Linked DNA regions of Homo sapiens: region 2 is linked to region 1. Evidence: promoter capture Hi-C in human tissues and cell types (Jung and others, 2019). All regions are on one chromosome and are shown on one strand. Each heading gives the region's core, a stretch centred on a gene start or on the middle of the fragment in contact. The rest is flanking DNA. Distances are from core to core; before and after follow the strand shown.

Region 1 (5,199 bases), core at 1,294-3,793:
TAAGAGACAGAAGTAAATGATTCAATATGTAAATCTAGATTGATTCTGGTTAAAAAAAAAATCACATTCTTGGGACAAATGGGGAAATTTAAAGAACTAGATTTTAGAAATACTATTTTCTTGGGTGGGGAAATGGTATGGTGGTTATGTAACAACATTTTGCTCTTATTTATAAGAGAATGCTGAAATACTTGGGGCTGCAATGTGTCAAAATACTTTCAAATAAACATGCGTGGACCAGGCGTGGTGGCTCGTGCCTGTCTGTAATCCCAACACTTGGGGACACTGAGGTGGGTGAATCGCTTGAGCCCAGGAGTTCCAGACCAGGCTGGGCAACATGGTGAATTCCTGTCTCTACAAAAAAAATACAAAAATTAGGCCAGGTACGGTGGCTCACGCCTGTAAATCCAGCACTTTGGAAGGCAGAGGTAGGCGGATCACTTGAGGTCAGGAGTTCGAGACCAGCCTGGGCAACGTGGCAAAATCCCCGTCTCTACTTAAAATACAAAAATTAGCGGGGCATGGTGGTGGGCGCCTGTAATCCCAGCTACTGGGGTGGCTGAGGCAGGAGAATCGCTTGAACCGGGAGGCGGAGGCTGCAGTAAGGCGAAATCGCGCCACTGCACTCCAGTCTGGGCGACAGAGCAAGGCTCCATCTCAAAAAAAAAAAAAAAAAAAAAAAAAAAATTAGCTGGGCATGGTGGCGCGCGCCTGTACTCCCAGCTACGGAGGAGGCTGAGGTGGCAGGATCACAGAGCGCAGGGAGGTCGAAGCTATGGTGAGCTGTGATGGCGTCACAGCACTCTAGTGTGAGTGACAAAGACTCTGTTCTCAATCTATCAGCATGGGGAGATAAAGCAAATATGGCAAGGCTTTCAGCTGTTGATTCCAGGCGAAGAGTTGTCCTACAGGTGTTCACTGCACTTTTCTTTCAACTTTTCTCTATGTTCTAAACTTTGCACAATAAAACCTTTGGGAGAAATTATTTTTCTATAAATTTTCACCACCATCTGTCCCACTGAAACACCACAGTTCTAAAACATTCAAGAGGTCATGGTAACATTTCCGTGTCTTTGTAATTTTAGATAAATTCTAAGAATTAACAATGAATTTCGAAAACTTTCAATGAAACCTCAGTTCATTAGTCCTTCACTTTCAGATAACAAATACTAGATCAGAAAAGGGGTAAACAGTTTTGATACAGTAATTTTAAGACTTTGCATGCTTGGGCATGCTAACACTATGTAAAATGTAAATAGTGCGAAGATTTCTGGACTGAAACCAGTCCTCGGGCAAACACAAAACAATTTAATCAAACTGCCGACATAATGAAATCTACAGTCTTACAGACTATGCAATAGAACGCTCCTATTTTGCCTCATCTCTGCCAACCTCCAATAACATCTTCCACGTTATAAGCTAGGGAACCTGAAAAACGAAAACCTAAGTGCATGTCGTTGCTATGGCAATGGGAAATTTCAGGAAATTGAGACTGCAGGCTACCTAGCCTCCATTTTAGAAACTGTATTTATCTAAACACACCAGGACTTAGATCGAAAAACACATTTAATGGCATTTTTCATAACTATTTAGCTTCCTCTTTCACACTAAAAGGTAAATACTATCCTACAAAATTCTGAATACAAAGAGCAAAAGAAACAAATCACACTGATCTAACCTAAAAGTGTGAATTTTAAAATATTTAGTTGTCACTCATATTTACTATTAAAACAGATGCTTTTATTTACAGTGGCCAAAACAGACTTCTCATTTTCAACTTATACCTGCAATGTTTATGTAGCTGGAAAAATGAAAACGAAATGTGGCTAAAAGAAAAGAAAACGAAAGAAAGCCACAAAATTCCCAAAACCTCAGCATAACTTGCTTCTTTCTTCACTCGCTCTCATTAAGTCTTAATTCTCCAGATTAGCTTTGTCTCAAATATTTCTCAAACTAGTAACCTATTTCTGGGTACAGTATATTTGGCGGGGTAAAAGAAACACTGTCAAGTTTTTCTAAAACGTCGGGTGCACGTTAAAATAATTCCTATCCACTCTAATACCAAAACGATATCAAAGGAAAGCATCCCATCTGGAGTAGTCCCATGAATCTAAATAGGACGAAGCAGCCTACCGCTATTGTCTAAATCAAGTATTTACTCGTATTCATGCCTAAGAGAGAGAAGTAAAAAAAAAAAAATTAAATCTTAGATCTTGCTCCCCATTCCCACCACTCTTCTATATACCCTGTCCCCCGGGTTCACTAGACCCAATTCCTTCCTCAGCCGAACATGTCTGGAGCAGTCGGAGGAACAGACGTGGAGAAGAGGTCGCCACGAGGCCCCACCACTCTCCTTCCTCACCTGCTCCGTGGCTCCGTCTCCTGACATGGCCTCAGCTGATTACAACGTGCGCACTGACCGTCGATGGGAAGCTAGAAAAGAAAAATTAAACTAAAAACCACCCCCAAATCAGTAAAGTTACCCCCTGCCCAGCTGAGCCAGACCGCCAACACCAATCGCCACCGCCCACTCAAATATGAATTAAAATGGCTGCGCCCCTGCCGGCCGAGGAGGAGGTGTGTGGCTTCCGCATTAACTTCCGGGGCAGTGGGCGGGGCTAATTTCGCGACTCTGGTTATTCCGAGCGTGCAGAAAGCAGCGAGATCCCGGGGCGGGCCCAATTCCTGGGCTGACGTCACTACCCTGGCTTGGAGAGGCTGTTGCTGAGCCGGCTCCAACCGGCTGGAAGGCGGGAAGCTGTTTCGCCTGGAGGCTCGCGCGCTTTTTGGAATTCAGTTATCAAGCTTTAGAGCCTGGCTACTCACAGTTGAAGCCTGATTGCAGGTCAGCAATGCTAAACGTTAAATGCCTCTTATATTTAGGGGATAAGGACTCCGTGGAGGTTTTCTCTGGTCCCAGCTCCTGCTTTTTACTTTTCTTGGGGGTGGGAGGGATAGATCAAGCCCCCATTAATTTTTACTGCCACCGTCGACTCTTGTGTAGAAAGCTTTGAAGTCTGAGACCTGGGTTTTCAGCTCAACATCTCAGCTTGGTTCCTTGACTGCAAAGTAGGTATAATTGTTTGTAGCCCAGACTGCTTGGATTTTAACGAAGATAAGTAACTCTGGTAATTAAACTTCGTACCTCAGCTTTCTGGCCTATAGATGGGAATAATAATAGTACCTGCAAGTGAAATAAATTATACATAGAAAAGTGTTAGAACAGTACCTGGCATTAAGATTAAATGAGATTGACTGGGCGCGGTGGCCCACGCCTGTAATCCCAGCAGTTTGGGAGGCCAAAACGGATGGATCATTTAAAGTCAGGAGTTCTAGGCCAGGTGCGGTGGCTCACGCCTGTAATCGCAGCACTTTGGGAGGCTGAGGCGGGCGGATCACAAGGTCAGGAGATGAGACCATCCTGGCTAATACGGTAAAACCCCGTCTCTACTAAAAATACACACACACACAAAAAAAAATTAGCCGGGCGTGGTGGCGGGCGCCTGTAGTCCCAGCTACTCCGGATGCTGAGGCAGGAGACTGGCGTGAACCTGGGAGGCGGAGCTTGCAGTGAGCCGAGATCGCGCCACTGCACTCCAGCCTGGGCGGCAGAGCGAGACTCCGTCTCAGAAAATAAATAAATAAAGTCAGGAATTCAGGACCAACCTGGCCAACTTGGTGAAATCTCGTCTCTACCAAAAATACAAAAAAAGTAGCCGGGCGTGGTGGTTTGCGCCTGTAGTCCCAGTTACTCGGGAAGCTTAAGCAGGAGAATCGCTTGAACCCGCGAGGCGGAGGTTGCAGTGAGCCGAGATTCCAGCCTGGACTACAGAGCGAGACTCCGTCTCAAAAAAAATAAAAAATAAAAAATTAAATGATACTAAATCTTCTCAAACTGCTCTTCCATTTAAGCGTCATCGTTAGATGTCTGCAAGCATTTCTCGCCTACGGGGGTCCAATGCCCTAAAATAACCTAGTGAACTGTTCCCAGACTCGCCTTATTCTTTTAGGTCTCCTTTCCTCTGCTCAAACTTACACTTACTCCCTTTCCACAGGCTGAAATCTTACCCTTAAAATAATCAGACACATGAGCAAAAGATATGTATTAACAGATGTTCATTGCACCATCCAGCAATGGAGGACTGGTTAAAAATATCACAAGATTTATCTCTGCAATGGAATATCACACAGCAAACTGATGCTAATGTACGATGACTGACAGAAAGGCAACCACCGTATTAAATGAAGAAAAGCAGAATATGAAAGTGTTTTACGTATATATACTTACCACTTTAGCATCCTAATCTGAAAATCCAAAATCTGAAATACTCCAATGAGCATTTCCTTTGAGAGTCATGTCAGTGCTTAAAAAGTTAGATTTTGGAGCGTTTTGAGTTTTGGAACATTTAGGTTTTTTTTTTTTTTTCTCTTGAGGCAGAGTCTTGCTCTGTCGCCCAGGCCGGAGTGCAGTGGTGCGATCTCGGCTCACTGCACCCTACACCTCCCAGGTTCAAGCGATTCTCCTGCCTCAGCCTCCTGAGTAGCTGGGATTACAGGCGTGCGCCACCACGCCCGGCTAATTTTTGTATTTTTTCTTTTTCTTTTTTTTTTTTTGAGACGGAGTCTCGCTCTGTCGCCCAGGCTGGAGTGCAGTGGCACAATCTCGGCTCACTGCAAGCTCCCAAGCTCCGCCTCCTGGGTTCACTCCACTCTCCTGCCTCAGCCTCCCAAGTACCTGGGACTACAGGCGCCTGCCACCGCCCTGGCTAATTTTTTTGTATTTTTAGTAAAGAAGGGGTTTCACCATGTTGGCCAAGCTGGTCTGAACTCCTGGCCTCAAGTGATCCACCCAACTCGGCCTCCCCAAGGATTGGGATGACAGGCGTGAGCTAACGCGCCTGGCCCAGATTTTTGAATTAGGGATACTCAACCTGTTATAAATATATATATATATATATATATATATATATATATATATATATATATATATTTTTTTTTTTTTTTTTTTTTTTTTTTTTTTTGACACTGAGTCTCGCCCTTTCACCCAGGCTGGAGTGCAGTGGTGCGATCTCGGCTCACTGCAAGCTCTGCCTCCTGGGTTCAAGTGATTCTCGTGCCTCAGCCTCCTTAGTAGCTGGGATTACAGGCTCCCACCACCACACCGGGCTAATTTTTGTATTTTTAGTCGAGACAGGATTT
Region 2 (5,199 bases), core at 1,494-3,993, 520 kb after region 1:
CCACTTACGAGTGAGAACATACAATGTTCGGTTTTTCATTCCTGAGTTACTTCGCTTAGAATAATAGTCTCCAATCCCATCTTGTTTGCTGCAAATGCCATTAATTCATTGCTTTTTATGGCTGAGTAGTATTCCATTATACATATATACCACAATTTCTTTATCCACTCATTGATTGATGGGCATTTGGGCTAGTTCCATATTTTTGTAATTACAAATTGTGCTGCTATAAACATGCATGTGCAAGTATCTTTTTTGTATAATGACTTCTTTTCCTCTGGGTAGATACCCATTAGTGGATCAAATGGTAGTTCTGCTTTTAGATCTTTAAAGAATCTCCAGACTGTTTTCCATAGTGGTTGTACTGGTTTACATTCCTACCAGCAGTGTAGAAGTGTTCCCTTGTCAGCACATCCATGCCAACATCTATTTTTTTTTTTTTTGATAATGGTCATTCTTGAGGGAGTAGGGTGGTATCACATTGTGGTTTTGATTTGCATTTCTGTGATCATTAGTTATGTTGAGCATTTTTTCATATGTTTGATGGCCATTTGTATATCTTATTTTGAGCAATTTCTATTCATGCTCTTAGCCCACTTTTTGATGGGATTGTTTATTTCTTGCTAATTTGTTAGAGTTCCTTGTAGATTCTGGATATTATTCCTTTGTCAGGTGTATAGATTGTGAAGATTTTCCCCCACTCTGTGGGTTGTCTGTTTACTCTGCTGACTGTTCCTTTTGCTCTGCAAAAGCTCTTTAGTTTAATTTAAAGTCCCAAGTATGTATCTTTGTTTTGTTTTTGTTGCATTTGCTTTTGGGTTCTTTTGGTCATGAAACCTTTGCCTAAGCCAATGTCTAGAAGGGTTTTTCCAATGTTATCTTCTAGAATTTGTATAGTTTTAGGTCTTAGATTTAAGTCCTTGATCCATCTGGAGTTGACTTTTGTACAAGGTGAGAGATGAGGATCCAGTTTCATTCTCCTACATGTGGCTTGCCAATTATCCCAGCACCATTTGTTGAATAGGGTGTCCTTTCCCCACTTTATGTTTTTGTTTGCTTTGTTGAAGATCAGTTGGCTGTAAGTATTTGGATTTATTTCTTGGTTCTCTGTTCTGTTCCACTGGTCTATGTGCCTATTTTTATACCAGTACCATGCTGTTTTGGTGACTGTGGCTTTATAATATAGTTTGAAATCAGGTAATGTGATGCCTCCAGATTTGTTCTTTTTGCTTAGTCTTGCTTTGGCTAGGTAGACTCTTTTCAGTTCCATGTGAATTTTAGGAATGTTTTTTCTAGTTCTGTGAAGAATGATGGTGGTATTTTGATGGGAATTGCATTGAATTTATAGATTGCTTTTGGCAATATGATTATTTTCACAATGTTAATTTTACCCATCCATGAGCATGACATGTGTTTTCCATTTGTTTGTGTCTATGATTTCTTTCAGCAGTGTTTTGTAGTTGTCCTTGCAGAGGTCTTTCACCTCCTTGGTTAGATATATTCCTAAGTATTTTATTTTATTTGTAAAAAAGAAAAGCTTATTGTAAAAAAAGGTTGAGTTCTTCATTTGATTCTTAGCTTGATCACTGTTGGTGTATAGCAGAGCTACTGACTTGTGTACATTAACTTTGTATCCTGAAACTTTGCTGAATTCATTAATCAGTTCTAGGAGCTTTTTGGAGGAGTCTTTAGGGTTTTCTAGGTATACAGTCATACCATGAGCAAACAGCAACAGTTTGACTTCCTCTTTAGTGATTTGAATGCCCTTTATTTTTTTTCTCTTGCCTGATTGCTCTGACTAGGACTTCCAATACTACGTTGAATAGAAGTGGTGAGAGTGGGCATCCTTGTCTTGTTCCAGTTCTCAGAGGGAATGCTTTCAACTTTTCCCAGTTCAGTATTATGTTGGCTGTGGGTTGTGATAGATGGCTTTTATTTCATTGAGGTATGTCCCTTGTATGCCGATTTTGCTGAGAGTTGTAATCATAAAAGTGATGCTGGATTTTGTCACATGCTTTTTCTGTGTCTATTGAGATGATCATGTGATGTGATTTTTGTTGTTAATTGTTTAAGTAGTGTGTCATATTTATTGACTTGCATATGTTAAACTATCCCTACATCCCTAGTATGAAACCTACTTGATAATGGTGTATTATCCTTTTTGATATGCTGTTGAATTTGGTTAGCTAGTATTTTGGTGGGGATTTTTGCATCTATGTTCAACAGGAATATTGGTGTGTAATTTTCTTTTTTTGTTATGTCCTTTCCCAGTTTTGGTGTTAGGGTGATACTAGCTTCATAGAATGATTTAGGGAGGATTCCCTCTTTCTCTATCTTATGGAATAGTGTCAATAGGATTGGTACCAATTCTTCTTTGAATGCCTGGTTTCAGCTGTGAATCCATCTGGTCCTGGACTTTTTCTGTTGGTATTTTTTTTAATTACCATTTCATTTTCACTGTTTGTTTTGGGTCTCTTCAGGGTTTCTAATTCTTCCTGATTTAAGCTAAGAGAATTGTATCTTTCCAGGAATTTATGCATCTCCTCTAGGTTTTATAGTTTATGTTCATAAAGGTGTTCATAGTAGCCTTGAATGATCTTTTGTATTTCTGTGGTGTTGGTTGTAATATCTCCCATTTTGTTTCTAATTGAGCTTATTTGGATCTTCTCTCTTTTTGGTTAATCTTGCTAATGGTCTATCAGTTTTATTTATCTTTTCAAAGAACCAGCTTTTTGTTTCATTTATCTTTTGTATTGTTTCTCTTGCTTCAATTTCATTTAGTTCTGCTCTGATCTTTGTTATTTCTTTTCCTCTGCTGGGTTGGGGTTTGGATTGTTCTTGTTTCTCCAGTTCCATGAGGTGTGACCTTAGATTGTCTATTTGTGCTCTTTCAGACTTTTTGATGTAGGCGTTTAATGCTATGAAGTTTCCTCTTAGCATCACTTTTGCTGTGTCTCAAAAGTTTTGATAGGTTGTGTCACTATTATTGTTCAGTTCAAAGAACTTTTTAATTTCCATCTTGATTTCATTGTTGACCCAACGATCATTCAAGAGCAGGTTATTTAATTTCCATGTATATATGGTTTTGAGGATTCCATTTGGAGTTGATTTCCAATTTTATTGCACTGTGGTCTGAGACAGTACTTGATATAGTTTCAGTTTTCTTAAATTTATTGAGACTTGTTTTGTGACCTATCATATGGTCTATCTTGGAGAAAATTCCATGCACTGATGAATAGAATGTATATTCTGCAGTTGTTGGGTAGAATGTTCTTAAATATTTGTCAAGTCCATTTGTTCCAGGGTATAGTTTAAATCCATTGTTTCTTTGTTGAAGTTCTGTCTTGAAGACCTGTCTAGTGCTGTCAGTGGAGTATTGAAGTCCCCTAGTATTATTGTGTTGCTGTCTATCTCATTTCTTAGGTCCAGTAGTAATTGTTTTATAAATTTGGGAGCTCTGGTGTTAGGTGCGTATATATTTAGGATTGTGATATTTTCCTGTTGGACAAAGCCTTTTATCATTATATAATATCCTGCTTTGTCTTTTTAAACTGCTGTTGCTTTAAAGTTTGTTTTGTCTGATATAAGAATAGCTACTTCTGCTCGCTTTTGGTGTCCATTTGTGTAGAATGTCTTTTTCCACCTCTACCTTAAGTTTATGTGAGTCTTTATGTGTCAGGTGAGTCTCTTGAAGGCAGCAGGTACTTGGTTGGCGAATTCTTGTCCATTCTGCAATTCTGTATCTTCTAAGTGGAGCATTTAGGCTATTTGCATTCAACATTAGTATTGAAATGTGAGGTACTATTCCATTCATCATGCTATTTGTTGCCTGTATACCTTGGGTTTTTAAAAAAAATTTTTATAGGTCCTGTGAGATTTATGCTTTAAAGAGATTCTGTTTTGATGTGTTTCTGGGATTTGTTTCAAGATTTAGAGCTCCTTTTAGTAGTTCTTGTAGTGGTGGTTTGGTAGTGGCAAATTCTCTTAGCATTTGTTTGTCTGAAAAAGACTATCATCTTTCCTTCATTTATGGAGCTTAGTTTCACTGGATACCAAATTCTTGGCTATTTACGGAGGTTGAAGATAGGGTCCCAATCCCTTCTAGCTTGTAGGGTTTCTGCTGACAAATCTGCTGTTAATCTGATAGGTTTTCCTTTATAGGTTACCTGGTGCTTTTGCCTCACAGCTCTCAAGATTCTTTCCTTCATCTTGACTTTAGATAACCTGATGACAGTGTGCCTAGGTGATGATCTTTTGCAGTAAATTTCCCAGGTGTTCTTTGAGCTTCTTGTATTTGGATGTCTAGGTTTCTAGCAAGGCTGGGGAAGTTTTCCTCAATTATTCCCCCAAATATGTTTTCCAAACTTTTAGATTTCTCTTCTTCCTTAGGAATGCCAATTATTCTTAGGTTTGGTCATTTAACATAATCCCAAACTTCTTGGAGGCTTTGTTCATTTTTTAAAAATTCTTTTGTCTTTGTTGGATTGGGTTAAATCAAAAACCTTGTCTTCGAGTCTGAAGTTCTTTCTGCTGCTTGTTCGATTCTATTGCTGAGATTTTCCGGTACATTTTGCATTTCTCTAAGTGTGTCCTTTATTTCCTGAAGTTGTGATTGTTTTTTATTTATGCTATTTCACTGAAGATTTCTTCCCTCATATCTTGTATCATTTTTTTATTTCCTTAAATTGGACTTCATCTTTCTCTGGTGCCTCCTTGATTAGTTTAATAATCAACCTTCTAAATTCTTTTTTTAGGTAAATCAGGGATTTCTTCTTCATTTGGATCCATTGCAGGTGAGCTAGTGTGACTTTTTGGGGGTGTTAAAGAACCTTGTTTTGTCATGTTACCAGTATTTTTTTTCCGGGTTCCTTCTCATTTGGGTAGGCTATGTGAGAGGGAAGATCTGGGGCTCAAGGCTGCCATGCAGATTCTTTTGTCCCATGGGGTGTTCCCTTGATGTGGTACGCTCCCCCTTTTCCTAGAAATGTGGCTTCCTGAGAGCTGAACTGTAGTGATTATTATTTCCCTTCAGGATCTAACCACCCAGCAGGACTACCAGGCCCCGGGCTGGTACTGAGGGGTGTTTGCACAGAATCCTGTGATGTGAACCATCTTCAGGTCTCTCCATTGTGGATACCAGCACCTGTTCCAGTGGAGGTGGCAGAGGGGGTGAAATGGACTCTGTGAGGGTTCTTAGCT

Evidence for each region. The method cuts DNA at HindIII sites, captures the fragments that hold promoters and counts their contacts. A contact is called where the count stands out against the background at its distance.
Region 2: a fragment that was not itself captured here is called in contact with the fragment with the promoter of CSTF3 in region 1 in 2 of the 25 tissues and cell types used here (adrenal gland and mesendoderm cells).

Annotation. Positions count from the first base shown.
Region 1 is chr11:33,158,937-33,164,135 of GRCh38, forward strand. It overlaps CSTF3 (cleavage stimulation factor subunit 3), which reads right to left and starts at 2,544. Exons shown (of 21, transcript NM_001326.3): 1 at 2,363-2,544. The coding sequence starts at 2,389. It overlaps CSTF3-DT (CSTF3 divergent transcript), which reads left to right and starts at 2,721. Exons shown (of 4, transcript NR_034027.1): 1 at 2,721-2,845. RefSeq lists enhancers at 906-1,773, 2,509-2,928. The HindIII fragment of the contact is 6,364 bases long and covers 1-5,199 here.
Region 2 is chr11:33,677,070-33,682,268 of GRCh38, forward strand. No RefSeq gene overlaps it. Among named protein-coding and RNA genes, the nearest start is that of C11orf91, 21 kb to the right of the region's middle. The HindIII fragment of the contact is 9,272 bases long and covers 1-5,199 here.